3 separate regions of the Homo sapiens genome follow, and all the other regions are linked to region 1. Evidence: promoter capture Hi-C in 16 types of primary human blood cells and fetal thymus (Javierre and others, 2016). All regions are on one chromosome and are shown on one strand. Each heading gives the region's core, a stretch centred on a gene start or on the middle of the fragment in contact. The rest is flanking DNA. Distances are from core to core; before and after follow the strand shown. Region 1 holds the start of PPL (periplakin). Region 2 overlaps ANKS3 (ankyrin repeat and sterile alpha motif domain containing 3). Region 3 holds the start of SEPTIN12 (septin 12).

What was found. Contacts are between HindIII fragments. The CHiCAGO score rates a contact against its expected background, and 5 or more counts as called.
Region 2: a fragment that was not itself captured here is called in contact with the fragment with the promoter of PPL in region 1 in 6 of 17 cell types (erythroblasts, endothelial precursors, megakaryocytes and 3 more); the score reaches 8.6 in erythroblasts.
Region 3: the fragment with the promoter of SEPTIN12 here is called in contact with the fragment with the promoter of PPL in region 1 in 2 of 17 cell types (endothelial precursors and M1 macrophages); the score reaches 6.0 in endothelial precursors.

The regions. Positions count from the first base shown.
Region 1 is chr16:4,935,292-4,939,785 of GRCh38, reverse strand. PPL (periplakin) reads left to right here and starts at 2,638. Exons shown (of 22, transcript NM_002705.5): 1 at 2,638-2,802. The coding sequence starts at 2,741. RefSeq lists a silencer at 2,296-2,695. The HindIII fragment of the contact is 7,029 bases long and covers 1-4,494 here.
Region 2 is chr16:4,723,550-4,728,043 of GRCh38, reverse strand. ANKS3 (ankyrin repeat and sterile alpha motif domain containing 3) reads left to right here. Exons shown (of 18, transcript NM_133450.4): 4 at 867-1,065; 5 at 1,264-1,385; 6 at 3,213-3,294. Among named protein-coding and RNA genes, the nearest start is that of ANKS3, 8.5 kb to the left of the region's middle. The HindIII fragment of the contact is 332 bases long and covers 2,433-2,764 here.
Region 3 is chr16:4,786,454-4,790,947 of GRCh38, reverse strand. SEPTIN12 (septin 12) reads left to right here and starts at 2,603. Exons shown (of 10, transcript NM_144605.5): 1 at 2,603-2,668; 2 at 3,281-3,468. The coding sequence starts at 3,303. It also overlaps a transcript of SMIM22 not described here. The HindIII fragment of the contact is 19,587 bases long and covers 1,716-4,494 here.

The sequences.
Region 1 (4,494 bases), core at 1,389-3,888:
CACAGTGGCTCACAGCTGTAATCCCAGCACTTTGGGAGGCTGAGGCAGGCAGATCACAAGGTCAGGAGTTCAAGACCAGCTTGGCCAACATGGCAAAACTCTGTCTCTACTAAAAATACAAAAATTAGCAGGGCGTGGTGGCAGCAGGAGAGTTGCTTGAATCCAGGAGGCAGAGGTTGCAGTGAGCCGAGAGTGTGTCATTGCACTCCAGCCTGGGCGACAAGAGCCAGACTGTCAAAAAAAAAATAATAATTAATTAATTTAAAAAAAATTAGCCAGGCATGGTGGTGCACACCTGTGGTCCCAGCTACTTGAGAGGGAGGCTGAGAAGAGACAACGGCTTCCGTCTGGGAGGTCAAGGAAGGCTGCAGTGAGCCATGATCACGCCACTGCACTCCAGCCGGAGCAACACAGCAAGACCCTATCTCCAAAAAAAAAGAAAGAAAAAGAAAAGTTAACGTGTTTTTGTTTTTGTTTTTGTTTTTTGACGAAGTCTCACTCTGTCGCCCAGGCTGGAGTGCAGTGGCACGATCTCAGCTCACTGTGACCTCCCAGGCTGGAGTGCAGTGGCGTGATATGAGCTCACTGCAACCTCCCCTTCCCAGTTTCAAGAGATTCTCCTGCCTCAGCTTCCCAAGTAGCTGGGACTACAGGCAGGCGCCACCACGCCCAGCTAATTTTTTATTTTTAGGAGAGACGGGGTTTCACCATGTTGGTCAGGCTGGTCTTGAACTCCTGACCTCAGGTGATCCCCCTGCCTCGACCTCTCAAAGTACTGGGATTACAGGAGTGAGCCACCGCGCCCATCCAAGTTAACATTTTTAATATGTGTCCCCTGCCCCGGGACCTGAAAGCTCCCAAAGAGAAAGCCCCTTTTGTGTTGTTCTTTTCCCTTTTCTCATCCGTGTACAACAAGCAGAGCCAGGCACACTGAGGCTGTGAGAGTGATGGGAAACATGTGTTGAATGAGTAAATGACTCCACTGAGCAATACATCCTCCCCCAGAAAAATGCACATTTGGACACACACATTTTGAAAGCAACTTTAGGGCTGGGTGCAGTGGCTCACACCTGAAATCCCAGCACTTTGGGAGGCCAAGGTGGGAGGACTGCTTGAGCCCAGGAATTCAAGACCAGCTTGGGCAACACAGCGAGACCCCATCTCTACAAAAAACATATATAAATATAAAGGTTTTAAAAATTAGCCAGGCGTGGTGGTGGACACCTGTGGATCCAGCTACTCGGGAAGCTGAGGTGGGAGGATTGCTTGAGCCCCAAAAGTCAAGGCTGCAGTGAGCTATGATTGTGCCAATGCACTCCAGCCTGGGCAACTGAGTCTCAAAGAAGAAAGAAGAAAGAAAGCAAGAAAGCAAGAAAGGAAAGAGAGAGGAAGGAAAGAAGGAAGGCAGGCAGGCAGGCACAACTTTAGGAGGAATCACACCTCTATTTACGCCTAGTGGTCCATTATTGGAACGTGACGCCTGTGGGAGTTATCTCCTACTGCTCAAGGTCACTGCCAAGGTATGATTTATCAATTCAAAAAATTGCAACCTCAGGCATAAATGGGTTAAGCCCACCCATAGAAGCCCCATTAAGAATAAGGTTGGCTGGGCACGGTGGCTAATATCTGTAATCCCAGCACTTTGGGAGGCTGTAGGCCGGCAGATCACTTGAGCACAGGAGTTCAAGACCAGCCTGGGCAACATGGTGAAACTCTGCCTCTACAAAAATTTTTAAAAATTAGCCAGGTGTGGTGGTGTGTGCCATCCGGGCTTCAGGTCAGATTAGGTTTCTGTCTAAGGGCAGCCTCCTCCACTGGCACACAGTCTGGGCCAGGACATGCTGGCAGAATTGTGCAACGTCGTTGTTCTGAGCCGCAATCGAGCAGCTTTTATGACCAGCTATGAAGCGCTCTTCTAGTGCCAGGGCCTGGAGTTATTGAAGTTTCAAAGGAGTTTTTGTCCACCCGAGATGGCAAGCGGAGAGCAGATTCAGGCCAGGGCACTGCGCTCAGCGCTTTGCGTGCATTACCTGCAGGGACATCCCCACAGGCCTTTCGGATGGGGTGGTGGTTATCACCGTTTGACAAAGAAGTAAACTGTGGCTGGGAGCAGTAAAACACCTTGCCCAGGAGTGTCAGCCAACCTGGGGGTGGCAGGGCTTGAACTCAGGCCGGCGCCCTCGGCAGTTCAGCCCCCTTCCCTCAATTGCCACCATCTGAGTGCAATTCGCTAGCTACTAGGGCACATGAATCCGTGCGGGTCTCTGCCGCACCTGTCTTGCGGGGCCCAGCTGGGTGTCCGCCAAAGCACCAGGAGCGCCGAGTTCCGCGGTAGCGCAGAACCAGGTGAAGGCCTCGGCCAGAGGCGCGCCGGGCCCGAGGAGGGTGGGGCTGCGAGCGCTCGCCCCGGCGGCCTTTGCGCCCCAGTGCCTGCCCGGCCTCCGGAGTCCCCCGGCTGGGGGTGGGCGGCGTCCGGCCAAGACCCAGTGTCCCCACCCCCGCGTCCAAGCCCCGCCCGCGCGGTGGCCCCTCCTCGGGAAGGTAAGCACCACCTTCTCGGGGAGCGGCCCGCAGAGCCAGTGGCCGGCGGGCGCCCCGCCCCCAGCGAGTAGGGACCCGGAGCCACTGCCGCGCCGCAGTCCGGGCTCCCCGCGCCGCCGCTCGCTCACCTGCGCTCCCGCCCGCCCCTCGGTGCGCGCCCGGCCCGCCAGCCGCCGCCGCCCGCACCCCGAGCGCCACCATGAACTCGCTCTTCAGGAAGAGAAACAAAGGCAAATACAGCCCCACTGTGCAGACCCGGAGGTGAGGAGGCGCCCACAGCTCCGCTCCGGGACGCTCTTGCCCCTGTGGGCGCACAGGACCTGGAAGACCTCCCGGGCAGTGTAGGAATGGGGGGTACGGGGGTCCAGGAACCGGGAACTGAACCCGGAGTGCGGGACTCTCGGGAACGCGGGACCGAGGCCACCCTGAAGCTGGGAAGCGCCGCCAGGTGGGAAGGGACTGGCTGGGGTCCCCGAGGGGGAGCATAACACAGGGGACTCCGGGAGCCCAGGGAGCATTGCCTTGAGGGCCTAGGGCACGGGCAGCTGAGCTGGGGGTACAGGGCACCCCCGTGTCCCAGGGTCGCTCTTGCGCAGAGGGTCGCACAGGACCGGGAATAGTCACCTGGATGAGGGGGCGGAGTTTTTGGAGGACCGGGCACTCAAGGCGGGGTCGCTGCGGGCGACCCAGGAAGCTCCGTCCAGGGGGCGCCCTGAGGCAGGGAAACTGAGCTGGCGTCGGGGGGCGCTCTCCAGCGCCTCTGAGACCGCGCAAGTGTTCCTGGCGTCGGGGAGGCGAGGGATGGGTGTCCGGAGGGGGCGGGCCACCCGCCGCTGCACTTCCCGGCACCTGCCACCCTGCGCGCCAGAGCCGCGCCCGGAGGCCCTGGGGGGTGTGGGGTCGGGTCGAGGGGCACAGGGGGAGGCACCCCCTTACCTCCCCACCCTCTGGGTTCTGAGCGGAGGTTGGGCGGCTTCGGGGCCTCCTCTTCGAAGCTCGGTTTCGCAGGGGTGTGGCTCCCTGCCCCCACCCCAGCCCCGAAACTGGCGGCGTCTCTGAGCCGCGGGTTCCCAGGGCGGCCTGGGAGGGGAATGGCATGTCTTGATGTGTTTGCAGGGAGAAGCAGCCCACGTCCCTTTTGATAAGCCTAATGTGTTCACTTAATAACCGGTTTAGGGGAGCCTGGTGGAGATGCTGAGATTGACGGAGGGGGTGGGAATCCAGCCCCTGCCTTATATCCCCACTTCGGAAAATAGAGTGGGGGCTCTGGGCTAGCAAGGACCATTTTGCCAGCTTCTCGGACAAGAGGCTTCAGGCAGGTGAGGGGCCCGCACATTACATGGCTCTCCTGTCTGGGAGTTCTGCCCCCAAGCTGCTCTCACTGGGAGCCCCCACTGTGCCCTCAAGCAGCTCCTCACTTCTTCCCTAGGCAAGGAGAGGCCTCTGGGCCCAGGGCTCCCACTCAACCCCTGCAGTCCGGCCTAGGCCGACCAGTCGGACAGGTGCAGGCGGCGGGGCCCTAGCACGCTGGAGTGCGACACTCCATTCCGGGGCCTTCCAGCCCTTTCAGAAACCCCCCTGCCCTGTGATCCCACCCACCCGTATCTCCGTTTGGGCTCTTTCAAGCTCAGAGGCATTACCCGCCTTTAGAGATTTCCCCACCCCTCCCCTATCTTTCACAACCCCAGAGACTGGGCAGGGCCTGCACACCCCTCCTCCATGGCTGCGTCCAGCTGGCACTCAGACCCAACCAGAGGCCCGTCCAGTCCCTGCACTGTTCCCTGGGGCATTGCACAATTGGATGCTCCGTGCCAGCCGTGGAGAACCGTTCTGTCCTCTCCACCCCAGAGACTAGACCCATCCAGTCCTTCACACATGCAGACACCCACATACCAGTGGTGGGGCCAGGCCTCGCCCCGCCCTCTGCCTCCTCCCAGCCTCCCTCCTTCGTGC
Region 2 (4,494 bases), core at 1,349-3,848, 210 kb after region 1:
AATCCCGTAAAAGGGACAGATCCTGGGGTTCAGTCACCAGTTGTTATCCCCTCTGCAGGCAAGAACTGGGGAAGGGAAAGAAGGCCTGTGGGCGTTAACCATGTAGGATCCCAGGTAACCATGCAAGTGGGTATTATTTTAAATGTGACTCCCTTGTCCCAACCCCAGAGTCGCAGCTAGGAAGCCCACAGTTTTTTCCCATGGGAAAATGCATTGCCAGAATTTTAACAGCAATCAGTGAGAAAGATGGGATTCTTTGGTCACAGATTTTTCAAGAATGTTTCTTTAAGGTGAGGTGACAAAGGATGAATCAGTGGCGGTGGGACTTGTCCACGGTGGAGTCCCTTCTTTCCTCACTGCTCCTCTCCACCCAGCAGTGGGCTAGTAGATGCCAGGCCTGTGGTGGTCAGGGTTTTTCAACTGTGGCTGTGTTGACAATCCAGGCTGGATCATTCTTTGCTGTGGGGGCTGTCCTGGACACTGTGGGATGTTTAGCGGCAGCCTTGGCCTCCAGCAGCCCTTCCCTGCCCAGTTGTGAGAACCAAAAATGCCTTCACACATTGCCACATATTCCCTGGTTGAGTGCCATCTGCCTATCTGGTGGTGTGAAAGAGCATAGCTGGCCTTGGGCTAGGAGGATGCGAAATCAGAGCAAGGAGACGAAGGCTCAGGGCCTCACAAGGCAGTGTACGAGCAACTGTCAGCATTTTTCTGCCTGCCTGCCTCCAATCCCCACAACGTCCAGGGTGGCAGATAACTTCTGCTTCCTGTCAACTCATCCCGCCTGGCCTAGCCTCGCCACCAGCTTTGGTGAACCCCACATGCGAGGCGGCTGGCCATGTCTAGCATATCTTGCGTTTGTTTAGGAGAGAGTTAGATTTGAATAAGAAGAATGGTGGTGGCTGGACCCCGCTGATGTATGCCTCCTACATTGGCCACGACACAATCGTGCACCTGCTGCTTGAGGCGGGGGTGAGTGTGAATGTGCCGACCCCAGAAGGGCAGACTCCACTGATGCTGGCCTCCAGCTGTGGCAACGAGAGCATCGCCTACTTTCTTCTCCAGGTGAGCTACGAGGGAACTCAGGCCCAGAAACCTGAGGGGCTCCGTGGCCACCCTGACAGAGATGCGAACCACTGCAGGCCACGGTGTTCGTGTGTGCTCGTGTAATCACTTCTGATTCTTGCAGCATGGCCGCCTGGAGGGCGCCCGCCCCACGCAGAGGAGATGAGGCCGTAACGCACGTTCTGTGTTCTCTTGAAGCAAGGTGCAGAGCTAGAAATGAAAGACATCCAGGGCTGGACAGCCCTCTTCCACTGTACCAGCGCCGGGCACCAGCACATGGTCAGGTTCCTCTTGGACAGTGGAGCCAATGCCAACGTGAGGTGATTGCCACATCTTTAGTGGCCACAGGAGTGGCCTAGGTGTCATCTGACTCTAAGGAGGGTGGCTCTGGAGGCAGCTAACCAGAGTTTAGGGCCACCCTGCTTCGGCACGAGAGGCTCAAGATGAGGGGTAGGACCAGAGTCCTTCCAGGCACAGGCCTTTTCGTACATCTGTGAGATGCATCTCTTCAAGCCCTCTCAGCTTCCTTTTCTTTATCTGAAACCCACCTGGGTCATACAGTTGTAAGAATTACATGTTTTATTGTATGCCAGGGGCCTAACATACTGAATGGCATTTAAATGTCATACATTACATGCAAATTCCTTCCATTTTCTTGCTTTTTGTATGGATGAGGTGAGGTGATGCTTTGAAACAGTCATGAGGCCGGGCGTGGTGGCTCACGCCTGTGATCCCAGCTCTTTGGGAGGCCGAGGTAGGCAGATCACGAGGTCAGGAGATCGAGACCATCCTGGCTAACATGGTGAAACCCCATCTCTACTAAAAATACGAAAAAATTAGCTGGGCATGGTGACGGGCGCCTGTAGTCCCAGCTACTCGGGAGGCTGAGGCAAGAGAATGGTGTGAACCCGGGAGGTGGAGCTTGCAGTGAGCCGAGATTGCACCACTGCACTCCAGCCTGGGTGACAGAGCAAGACTCCATCTCAAAAAAAAAAAAACAAAAACAACAGTCATGAGTTTTGGCCGGGCTCAGTGGCTCACACCTGTAATCCTAGCACTCTGGGAGGCCAAGGCGGGCAGATCATGAGGTCAGGAGTTCGAGACCAGTCTGGCCAACATGGTGAAACCCCGTCTCTACTAAAAATACAAAAATTAGCTGGGCGTGGTGGCAGGTGCCTGTAATCCCAGCTACTCGGGAGTCTGAGGCGGGAGAATCACTTGAAACCAGAAGGCAGAGGTTGCAGTGAACTGAGAGATCGTGCCACTGCACTCCAGCCTGAGCAACAAGAGCAAAACTCTGTCTCAAAAACAAACAAAAAACCAGTCATGAGTTTTATAAGTTGGAAGTGGGATTGTTGTCTAAAGCTTGTCATGATAATAATCACCTTTGAACAAACGCAGCGGGTACCAATGCAGCACCCACCCTGGCTGTCATTCATTCTAAGACACCTGATAATTTTGTATGCCACTAAGAAAGAAAAAATATGCTACTAATTAACATTCAACTCGCCTGTTGATTTAAAGATGTTTTCTGACTTGAGAGATGTTAAAATATGAACACTGTGTGTCTTAAGATGGATGAAAACCAGCATTTCCCATGCATGGTTCCTGACTTCCAAACCAGCATGAGACAAGGAGGGATTTGGAAGCCCTCTGAAGACAGTGCCGAGTTAGCATAACCAAGCATGAAAAGCAAGCTTCAGGAGCTAAGCGTGGCAAAGATAGCTTAGATCATTAGTACTTGAACTTTTCAGAGTGGGTTCATGGAGGACGTTGAACTTGAAGCCAGGATTTGGATGAATGGATGGGAGATGCTGGCTTTCTGTGAGGAATTAGAACAGCTTTTTGAATATGATTGAGGTGGAGATTTCAGAGGTAGCCAGTGGGAATAGCCAACAGGTGGGACGACAGGCAGACATCTGTCTTTAGGACAAAGACCAGCCCTGGGGACAGACACCAGAAGAGTAAATGGAGCTGATGTGTTATATTCACTGTTCTCATGTCACCTGTTAATTCTGGAAAGGGACAGTGTTCTACGCTTAGGGATCGGTGACTCGTGCACTGCTCAGGGTTTATCTTCAGCAGGGAGTTTTTGCCTGGCGGAACTTGTCTCTTCCAATCATCTGACTGTGGCCCACATCTTGCAGGGAGCCGATATGTGGATTTACTCCCTTGATGGAAGCAGCTGCTGCTGGCCATGAGATAATCGTGCAGTATTTTCTGAATCACGTAAGTGACCCTGATTATTAGCATGTAATGTAGTCACGGCAAATGAGGAATCATATTACTGAAGTATAAGCTATTACAGAATTTTCCTTTGCACAGAAATAACTTTCATTCATTTATTCAACACATTTTCATTATCTATTGACGCCCGGTGTTGAGTGGTGCTTAGGCATTAAGGATACAGTGGTGAGTAGAAATAGACACCTATTCCTGTAATAATTTTGAAAATACTATCTGAAAATTATGGAAAAATATTTTAAAAGTAAATAGCACTCATAATCCTGTCACTTAGAAAAATTATATAGAATAAGAAGGCAGAGATCCTCCTCTCTTTTTCAACCTCCCTGATGCCCACTTGGTTTGAGAAAGAGCTGCCCTAGGACTTTTCCTCTGCTGTGGAAAGATGTGTCTGTAGGCAAGTGTGTGCACATTGCTTTGTGTTTTGAACAAAGTGGGATTCTACGTATAGTCTGTAACTTAGAGACATCTTATAGACATCTTATCTTTGTACAGTATTCCGTGTACAATCTGCCTCAGTTAATTTAATGAGTTTCTTATTAGTAGAAACTTAGTTTTTAACATTTTGCAATTATAAACAGTGTTCCGGGAATATCCTTTTACACATAGCTTTAATACATTTGCAGTTATTTCTGTATGTTGTATTTCTGTTTTATTTTATTAATTTATTTTTTTGAGACATGGTGTTGCCCTGTATCCCAGGCTGGAGTTCAGTGGCGAGATCGTGGCTCACTGCAGCTTCAGCCTCCTGGGCTCAAGCGATCCTCCTGCCTCAGCCCCCAAGTAGCTGGGACTACAGGTGCATGCTACCATGCCCCGGCTAATTATTTAATTTTTTTTTTTTGGTAGAGTTGGGGGTCTCAGTATGTTGTGCAGGCTAGTCTTGAATTCCTGAGCTCAAGCGATCACCTCAGCCTCCCAAAGTGCTGGGATCACAGGTGCAAGCCTGTCCACACAGAACCTTGTACATAAATATTCATAGCAGTATTATTCATAATTGCCAAAAAGTAGAAAAACCCACAAGTCCATCTACTGAGGAATTGATAAACAAAATATATATCTGTATAGCAGGATATTATTCGGCCCTACAAAGTAATGCAGTACTGCTGCATGCTGCGGCAGGGGTGAACCCTGATGCGTTAGGCTGGGCTGGGTGCGGTGGCGCACGCCGGTAATCCCAACACT
Region 3 (4,494 bases), core at 1,354-3,853, 150 kb after region 1:
GTGGAATTGTGGTTTTCAAGATTTCACCTTGGACAACAAACTGTGGTCCAGGACAGGCTGTGCCCCATCGTCCCTGCCACCCTGGGCCCTGCCTGGCCCACCCTTAACCTCTAAGCCTTTATTTATTTACTTACTTATTTATTTATTTATTTATTTACTGAGCTAGGGTCTTACTCTGTCGCCCAGGCTGGAGTGCAATGGCACGATCTCGGCTCACTGCAACCTCCACCTCCTCGGTTCAAGCTATTCTCCCTGCCTCAGCCTCCCAAGTAGCTGCGACTACAGGTGCCCGCCACCAAGCCCAGCTAATTCTTGTATTTTTAGTAGAGATGGGGTTTCGCCATGTTGGCCAGGCTGGTCTCAAACCGGACCTCAAGTGATCTGCCCACCTTGGCCTCCTGAAGTGCTGGGATTACAAGCATGAGTCAACGCACCTGGCTGACCCCTAGCCTCTAAGCCTTTAAGGTTAAGCCTCCAGGAAGGAGCGGGAGTTCCCCAGAAGGAAGAACTGGCAGAAGGTAGTGGACAGCAAAGGGCAGAAGTCGGCCTGGGGCTCAGGAAAGCTGGAACCACGGCCACCTTTCTTCTGTGAATACGGTTTTACTTAGACACAGCCACGCCCATCTGTTTACCTATTGTCTGTGGCGACTTTCTCACTGCAATGAAAAGTTGCATAGTAGTTGCAACAGAGAACTTAGGACCAGCAAAGCCTAAAATAGGGACCATCTGGCCCTTTACAGAAAACACTTGCCAGCCTGAGTGTGGTGGCGCTTTGGGAGGCTGAGGCAGCTGGACCCCTTGACCCCAGGAGTTCAAGACAATCTTGGGCAACATAGGGAGACCTCATCTCTACAAAAAGTAAAAAAATTAGCCCAGCATGGTCTACGTACCTGAAGTCCCAGCTACTAGGGAGGCTGGGGCAGGAGGATCACTTGAACCCAGGAAGTCGAGGCTGCAGTGAGCTGTCATTGTGCCTCTGCACTCCAACTTGGGTGACAAAGTGAGACCCTGTCCCAAAAAAGAAAAAAAAAAAAGAAAGAAAAGAAAGGAGAAAAGAAAGAAAAAAGAAAGAGAAAACATTTGCCAATAGCAAGGACACAGGAATGCCTAAGCCTTGTGAAGTCAAGTACCAGGAAACAAGAAAGAATTAACTGTGTGAGATGGACTTGGTATAAGAAACAGCTTATCAGGCTGGGCATGGTGGTTCACGTCTGTAATCTCAGCATTTAGGGAGGCTGAGGTGAGAGGATCACTAGAACCCAGGAGTTTGAGACCAGCATGGGCAACATAGTGAGACCGTGTCTCAAAAAAATTTTAAAAAGGGCTGGGCGCAGGGGCTAACGCCTGTAATCCCAGCACTTTGGGAGGCCGAGGAGGGCAGATCACGAGATCAGGAGATCGAGACCATCCTGGCTAACACAGGGAAAACCAGTCTCTACTAAAAATAGGAAAAAATTAGCCGGGCGTGGTGGCAGGCGCCTGTAGTCCCAGCTACTCGGGAGGCTGAGGCAGGAGAGCGGCGTGAACCCGGGAGGCAGAGCTTACAGTGAGCCGAGATCATGCCACTAAACTCCAGCCTGGGTGACAGAGCGAGACTCCGTCTCAAAAAAAAAAAGAAAAAAAGGAAAAAAGAAAAAAAAAGGCCAGGCATGGTGGCTCACTAATCCCAACACTTTGGGAGACCAGGGTTGGTGGATCACTTGAGGTCAGAAGCTTGTGACTAGCCTGACCAATGTGGTGAAACCCCTTCTCTACTAAAAATACAAAATTAGCGTGGTGGTGCACACCGGTAATCCAGCTACTTGGGAGGCTGAGGCAAGAGAATTGCTTGAACCCAGGAGGCGGAGGTTGCAGTGAGCCGAGATCGCGCCACTGCATTCCAGCAAGGGCAACAGAGCGAGGCTGTCTCAAAAACAAACAACAAAAAAAGAAACAGCTTATCAGAGAGACAGTAAGGCAGGGGTGAGGACCACAGTCTGGAAAGCACATGGCCTATTTAAAGAGGGCATCTCAAGTCAGGGTGATAACCTCTAAGATACACCGGAAATCTAGATGTTTCTGTAAACCAGAAAAAGGCAGTAGAGGGTGAGCACACAGACTCAGAGCGGCAGAGACTCTGCCACCTCCTCACCTGACCCTCTCTTATCTATCAGCTTGGGGTAGTAACAGCACTTACTTCACAGGGCTTGATTATTAAACAAGTTAACATCTTTGGGCTCCTAGAACGATGCCATGTGCAGAGTCAGGACTGGGTAAATATTTGCTAAAGCAATCTCTTCATGTTTTTGACGCTGCAACTTAAAACACATGGCGCCAATCGTGGACACGGATATCCCGCTAGCCAGCTGTGGGGCCTGGGTTTGCTCACCCCAGCAGAGTGGTTGAGGGCGTCAGCTTGGAGGTGGGAGCCCAGCTGACGAGGGGGCCTTGGGCCCCTGGTTCTACTTGGGGATTATTGTATTATTAGGCTGGGGTCATTGTGGGGATTAGAAGGGTAACAGCTCCTGCTCCTGCTGCAGAGAAGCCTCCAGGTGGGGGTCACAGCAAGTGCAGATGGAGCTCAGATTCTTCGGTTAACTGTCACCCTCTCCCCTCCCCCATCACACACACCAGGCCCTGCCAGGACAAGGCAGCTCCTGGAAGCTCCACCAGGACCCACGTCCACCAGGTGTCACAGCAGGCTGCTTCTCTCTCTCTCTGCCCCCCGTGGGCTCTTCGCACCGCTCCCTCCCAGCCATCTTCCCTGCCTGACCTTGGTCTCTCTCTCTCTGTCTCCGTCACCTTCATGCCTGTGCCGTCTTTCTCGCTCTCTATCAACTCTGCTGTGTGTCCCCCTGGGGAAAGTGGGGGCACCTCCTCCTGAGCCCCCTGCCCAAGTTTCCTGCTGGGACGGGAGCCACTTCACCCCATACACACTCCCTGAAGCCCCTCCAGGACTCCAGCCTGGCTGCAAACACCCATCCTGGACTTTGCCTGGCCCTCCAGGCTCTGCTGGGGGAAGCGACCTGAGAGGCCCCTGCCTGGGCTGTAGGTGGGGACAGGGCAGACCCTTGGGCAGCGGAGCCTCTCTGGATGGGTGTTGAGGCACCCTGCAGAAACAGCTCCCCACAGGCACCCTTGCCACACCCCTGGGACTACAGGCACTTAGGGTACACCAGAGGCATGAAGTGTGGAGGGGGTTGGCCAACGGCCAAGCTCAAATAGGGGTTCAGATAGGAGAGGTCAATGTGGGCTCCTCTGAGCCCCAGTGACCCCCTTCTCCCCACCCACCTGGTGACAGGCATCTCGAACCCTTGGCCCCCATGGACCCCCTGAGGCGCTCCCCCTCTCCCTGCCTGTCCTCGCAGCCCTCCAGCCCCAGCACCCCACCCTGCGAGATGCTTGGTCCTGTGGGCATTGAGGCTGTGCTGGACCAGCTGAAGATCAAGGCTATGAAGATGGGGTTTGAGTTCAACATCATGGTGGTGGGTGAGTGAGAGGTAGGGCCCACGGCAGGACAGACCCACAGTGCTACGCGTGCCTGGGCGTGTGGCCTCACCTTTGGCAGCCTGTCGCCCCTCCCCATCTCTTAGGTGGGCCTGATAATAGCACCTCACAGGGATGTTGTCATTGAAAATTTGAGAAATGCTGAGTCATTAAAAGACAAAAATGTGCCTGGAGCGGTGGCTCACACCTATAATCCAGGGTTTTGGGAGACTGAGGTGGGTGGATCACTTGAGCTCAGGAGTTTGAGACTAGCAAAACCTAATGTCTACAAAAAGTACAAAAATGAGGCCGGGCATGGTGGCTCAAGCCTGTAATTCCAGCACTTTGAAAGGCCAAGGCAGGAGGGTCACTTGAGGTCAGGAGTTCGAAAACAGCCTGGCCAACATGGGGAAACTCCGTCTCTACTAAAAATACAAAAATTTGCCAGGCGTGGTGGTGGGCGCCTGTACTTAGGAGCTACTTAGGAGGCTAAGGCAGGAGAATTGCTTGAACCTGGGAGGCAGATGTTGTAGTGAGCCGAGATTGCGCCACTGTACTCCAGCCTGGGTGACAGAGCAAGACTGAAGCAGAAGGATCCCTGGAGGCCAGGAGTTCATGACCAGCCTAGGCAACACAGCAAGACCCCATCTCTACAAAAAAAATTTAAAAATTAGCCAGGCATGGTGACATGCACCTGAATCCCAGCTACTTGGGGGGCTGAGGTGGGAGGATCGTTTGAACCTGAGGGTGGAGGTTGCAGTGAGCTGCGATCACTTGAGTCTGGGTGACAGATTGAGACCCTGTCTTAAAAATTAAAAAACAGTGCAAGGCCGGGTGTGGTGGCTCACGCCTGTAATCCCAGCACTTTGGGAGGCTGAGGCAGGCGGATCATGAGGTCAGGAAATCAAGACCATCCTGGCTAACATGGTGAAACCCCGTCTCTACTAAAAATACAAAAAAATTAGCCAGGCGTGGTGGCGGGCGCCTGTAGTCCCAGCTACTTGGGAGGCTGAGACAGGGGAATGGCGT